2 separate regions of the Homo sapiens genome follow, and region 2 is linked to region 1. The links are contacts of gene promoters, found by promoter capture Hi-C in human tissues and cell types (Jung and others, 2019). All regions are on one chromosome and are shown on one strand. The core of a region is centred on a gene start or on the middle of the fragment in contact, and the rest is flanking DNA. Distances in the headings are between cores, read along the strand shown. Region 1 holds the start of ELAVL2 (ELAV like RNA binding protein 2). Region 2 overlaps LOC101929563 (a long non-coding RNA gene).

Evidence for each region. Contacts are between HindIII fragments. The study calls those that stand out against the background at their distance.
Region 2: a contact is called between a fragment that was not itself captured here and the fragment with the promoter of ELAVL2 in region 1, in 2 of the 25 tissues and cell types used here (dorsolateral prefrontal cortex and mesenchymal stem cells).

Annotation. Positions count from the first base shown.
Region 1 is chr9:23,824,882-23,827,673 of GRCh38, reverse strand. It overlaps ELAVL2 (ELAV like RNA binding protein 2), which reads left to right and starts at 1,434. Exons shown (of 7, transcript NM_004432.5): 1 at 1,434-1,868. It overlaps LOC105375992 (a long non-coding RNA gene), which reads right to left and starts at 1,246. Exons shown (of 3, transcript XR_929519.3): 1 at 1,157-1,246. The HindIII fragment of the contact is 12,029 bases long and covers 1-2,792 here.
Region 2 is chr9:23,550,803-23,553,594 of GRCh38, reverse strand. LOC101929563 (a long non-coding RNA gene) reads left to right here. Exons shown (of 28, transcript NR_121602.1): 13 at 665-1,055; 14 at 2,690-2,792. Among named protein-coding and RNA genes, the nearest start is that of ELAVL2, 270 kb to the left of the region's middle. The HindIII fragment of the contact is 3,320 bases long and covers 1-2,792 here.

The DNA.
Region 1 (2,792 bases), core at 185-2,684:
ACCTGTGTCTTCTTTTTCCGGCATTCTCAAAGATAGCGACTAGTTGTAAATATGTAAAGGAATCCCTTTCAAAAAGGCATGTGCCTCTGGTTAAGACACATTACATGTGTAATGTAATGTGTACATTACATTTACACATTCTGGTAAGAATGGTAAAAACTGTCTAGGAAGTTGGTGCTATCTTTCAAGATTGAAAAGAGAAATGCTGGCTGGAAAAGAACGTAGGTCAAATGAATATTGTGTCTACTTATACATCCAGACGATCCTGAGGACCTCACTTTCACTTAGAGGAAGAAACAATTATCATGCATAAAACTGTATTTTGGTCTCCTGAATGCTGTTAAAATATGGGGTTGTAATAAAGTAGTCTTCCTCTATGAAGCAGAAGCATTGATAGCACTTGGTCTTCTGGTTAAACTTCTTAAATCCTCACAGAAAGAGCCCTGATAAAGGTTCAACTATCTTTGCTGTCAGCAATACATGTGTGGTCCAAGGACTGTACCTGTCTGCAAATGCAGAGGAGTGGCTTGTTCCAGTTTTATATACAGCTGCTCTTTTTGAGAATCATTAGACACCTCGAAGTGAAGGACCTTAGCTCTACTCAATACCTCTTTTTCTGGATAGGATATTTATCCTACACTTTTCTATTCTAACATGAAGTGAAAGCCAATTCAAACCGTGCAGCTTTATTTGAGAGCATTTCTGACTTCATCTTTATCTTAAAAGGATGCTTTAAAAAGGGGTTCATGGGGACACATAAATCTGAAATATGCGTATATTAAAATAAAGACATACAATTACCTAACATCTAATACAAAATACAGTACTGAACACAAATCGAAAAAAGGCATGCGGGCAAATAATGGATGTACATTCATCCCTTTCACTCAGATCAAAGAGAGGGAGCTCTCAATGACTCATACATACCGGACAGAGTTAAATGTTATAAAGAAATATGCCACAGATGCAGCAGTGATGGCAAAGGAAATGAATCTTTCTGAAGCAGAAAGATTTAAGAGGAAAGGAGATCGTGCCATATCGCAAACTCTGATAGTACAGTTCCAACCCTCCCACGTTGCTCTCTCCACATTTCTTTTTGCTTCTTGCATTTCCCTTCGCCGCCAGTGTTAAGAGTGTACCTCCCCGCACAACTTACCTTGAAACGGGACTCCATTGAGCTCTCGAGAGTGACACAAGCCCATAGCCAATCGTCTCACGCGGCCCCGCCTGGGCGGCCTCAATGGAAGCGTGTGGACCAATCAGGATCCTGGGGCGATGAGCAAGTTACGTTGTGGCGCGATTCGGCGTATACTTCCGCGCGTGCTGCCCGGGATAGGAGCCTGGCAGAGCAGCTGCACACACGGCAGTGCGGAGGCAGAGAAGGGGTTGGTGATACGGTGCTATAAATCTGTGGTCCAGTCCACCTCCCTTTTAAGACGTCCTCCCCCCTATTTCTGTTCTTAGTTAGAGATGCAGCAGCTTACTCCTGTAGCGACCTACTAAAAAGCAACAAGGAGAAAGACATCGTCTTTTTGAAAAAACGTTCTTTCGTCTCTTTTCTTTGTTCCTTGGTTTGTTTTTCTTGCCCCTTTTTGTTTAGTTGAACGGCAATAGGAGGGTAGTCTCTCCGTCTTTTTAAACTCTTTTTTAAGTTTCCCCTCCCCTTTCATATTTTTTTTCGCCATTTCTTTTAGCATTGGACTTTGGGGTCGAAAGCGTTTCTTTTTATTTGCTTCTTTTAAGCCGAGCACAGTTTAGGTTTCGTGCTGTCTTAAGAGAACTATCCAGCAGCTTCTTGCTCATCCTTATTGGGAGAACTGCACCGTTACTTTAAAAACACACATACACAAAAACCTTAAGGGAGAAAGGTAAGTTTCGGTTTGGTTTCTTTAATCATTAGTTGCAGCGATGCGCTGGCAAACCCAGAAAACCTGTAAGTGAGCGGAATACAGAATATGAAGTTAATTGCACATGTTTGTCTCATTTCAAAGCTACTGTTCTGCTTTTTTAATTTTAAAGAGCTAGACTAAAAGACGGTGGACGCATGCTTAGCGTACTGAATATTCGTAAATGTCCATGGCAGAAACTTAAGTGGTAAATGTGGCCAGGGGGGAGTAGGGGTACAATGGGAGGTTAGATGTGGAGTGAGCTTCAAGATTGAGATCGGAAGTTCATTTCGTGGGGAGAGAGTGATAACTTGGGTGTTGGGGATGCATGCCTCTACTTTGGCTCAGCAACGGAAGGACGGGAGAGGCTTTACAATCATTAAGGGGAATCAGAAGCCTGGACTGGCAGATTAGACCAGCGAAAACCACAGGCTTAATTGCATTAACCAGATAGCATGTGCTGGGGAGATGGGATTGCCAGATGGAATTTAGATGCTGCACCAGGCAGCGAGTTGTAGTTGACTGAAAAAAGTACATGCCGCCTGAGGGCTGGGGCTGGGGCTGGGCTGAGGCTAGGGTTGTTAGAAGCTGTCAGAACTCATCATTGTATGCGGGCTCTGATTCACGGACTCCAATTATCATAATTCAGTTTTAAAAGAAGATAGCCAATTTGGGGCTGAATTCTTAAGCCTGTACCGGATATGAGATTCCCTTTGTTCAGAAAAGCGTAAATAAGATCCTTGGAGCTGTGTCTATGAAGTGCCGGCTGCTTGGGAGCCTCGCTGTGCTGGGCGCTGGGAAGTGGATTCCAAGCCCTGTCCTTGGTCCTACGCGGCTGACTTCGCCTTCGGGGAGAGGGGGAACCCCTCTGCAGCCGCGAGGCTTCGCAGCCACCCCAGGAGCCAA
Region 2 (2,792 bases), core at 135-2,634, 270 kb after region 1:
GGCTGCCTCCTTTGGAAGCTTAGTGCATCCTGAGGTTCTAAAAATGGTTACAGTGAAACAAAAACAGCTGTGTCAATTTCCAATTTCCGCTCTATTCAGATTCACACTCTGCCTCCTCTCCTCTCTTAGAGGCAGTGGGACACAGGCACACACATGCACTCATTCCACCTCCTTTCCTCCCTCAGGCGTGGAAGGACATGAGCGTGCACACAAGCAGGCACACACAGACACACATGTGCGCACTCTGCCGCCTCTCTCTCACTTACTTGAGTTCATTTCCCCATGGAGAGGGAATGTTTCTAGTTTTCCAAAAAGGAATGGCAAACAAGAGAAGCCACAAGAGCCTAGACTACAATAAAATGCTACAATATGCTTTCAAGCTGGAGCGACTAAAAAGCTGGGAAGAGAAAGCGGCAGTATAATGTCTATTTTTATCTTCAACTATAATCTACCCACTTGTAGTTTCATAGCTGTCAGGAGGCAGAAAAGGACATGGAATCAGCCTACTGTTCTCTGCTCGCATCCTACACCTGTGTGGCATGAATGTGGGTGTGTGTGCACATACACAGATACTTTAACACACTGTCAGAGGATTTGATTGAACTCACACCTGAAGCCAGATTTTTTTTAGAAGTTGTCCCTTTGTTCATTATTTCTTGGCCAGGCACAGAAAATTAAAAGCAGGTTATTGAAACCCATTTTCTGGGTCCTGAAGGATAACTGTTAGCCTTGGATGATCAGAAGGAGCAGCTATGCACCTATTAGGCTTTGTCAGCCTTGGCCACACTGGGTTATGGGGATTCCTAACCTCCTGAACACTACTCACTAGTTTGGTGATTATCTATCTCCTTGAGAGAAGGCAAGTATGGCCCAATGGAAATAGCACAGCCTTGGAGTCGGGACACCTGAGCATCTTGCCTCATTCTGCCATGTACAAACTCTGTGGCCTCCAGCAAGTTCCTTTACCACTCTGAACCACAGTGTCCTCATCTGCAGAGGGACGACAACCCCTATTTGATGATTGTTGGGAGAATTCAAGATAATGTATGCAAACAGTAAGTGTTATATGGTAGAGGCTAAAGAAATGCTGACTACTGTTATTTTTGTTATTGCTGTTTTATCTGCATTATTATTTTATTAATAGTAGTCGTAGAAGTAGTAGAGGTAGTTTGGGGTTTGATTTCTACATCTGTTCTATATTCTTGGTTCTGTTTCAGTTGTTACTCTCCTATATTGGTGGTGTGAGGTATCACATAAGGTTCCTACATCATCATCATAAGCAAGGCAGAGGAAGGACCTGCTTTGGGTGTAAGGCTTAGCTTTTGAAAAATGTCTGGGATGCCCTAGTCTCCTTTAACATGCTGGCAGATAAAGGACTTAAAATCTTAATGGAGAAGTTCAGTCCCTTGAAAGCTCCTTCTATCAGAAGCTTCCTTTTTAGCTGTTTCAGTGACATCTTAGTACATATGGGGGAACTGAGAGTAAGTCTGGTGATAATTCTTCAGAAAGTCAAGCACCTGGAGTCATACAGGTCTCCATTCAAGGGCTGTCCCTGCCTTTTATTAACCACATGAACTTGTGTATTTTGTTGAACCTTTGAAGGACTCAAATTTTCTCATCCGTAAAACAATACGTTTACAGTGATATGGTGAGGTTCAAAGTGTGAAAACACTATAAACCCTAGAGGATCAGATAACTGTTAACATGCTACTGTTATCGTAAAATATTGCAGGAGGATGATCCGGCCTTTACAAGTTTTGAAGTCTAAAGAAACACAGTAATTCCTGTGGGCTCCAAACCAGTTTTTTGCAAATGAAGTATTATTTTTGAGCATAGGTCTCCCTCTGTGCATTACTCCCAGCCTGCGTGCGGACCCTGAGCTACACACCACACAGTCATGCCTTTGTCTGGAAGCTCATTAATGCAGCAACAACTTCAACAGAAGAGCAGCTGTGTGGTGGTGTCTGGCTCACTGAGAGGGACACACAGGTCCTGCTGCTGCTATTAAGCATTTGCAAGGTGACAGATTGCCTCAATGACGTGTCCATGTGCTTCCTCATTATAATGCCTCAGGTCTAGAAAAAAAGCCTGGACCCACCAAAAAGCTTTCACAGATTGGAAAGTGCACAGTTTGGGGGTGTTTAGCACTTCAGCACATGCTCTGTGACTGTGCATTCAAGGCAACATGTCACAAGAAATTAGTCTGCAGCAGGCCACATATGTCAGCCAGCCGGTGGAAGCATTTGCCCAACACCCAGGCAAGAGACTCAGAAGAAAAGGCTGCTCACCTTAAATCGCCCTCACGGTTAGCACATTGGTGAGATCATCCAGAATCCTCTGCTCAGGTACAATATTGCTGTGGAGAAGCAGGAGCTTGGATAAAGGGAGAAGTAACCAGGAGGTGCTAAGGGGGGGAAAAAAGGCATCTCATGCCATTTACTTTGCATCAGGCAGAGAGAGATTTGCGTTGCACACATTATCACATAATATAACAGTCCTGCCAAGTGAGCACTATTAATATCTGAATTTCCAGATGGGAAGATGGAAGCTAGGAGAGGCCATGTGTCTTGAAAGCCATCTAACTAGGGAGTCCCCCAAAGATCTCTTAAAATCTAAAGTCTACCGACACTCCTTCCCTTCCATTGAGCATGTGCCTGAAATGTGATGAGGTTGATTTTCTTTGTGACAGACTTACCTACACTTGTACATTCAACTATCATCTTCTTCAAAGAAGAAACTGTGGCAGGTGCTATTCCACAACCCATGTTTATGTTCAAGCTTTGTTGGATTCC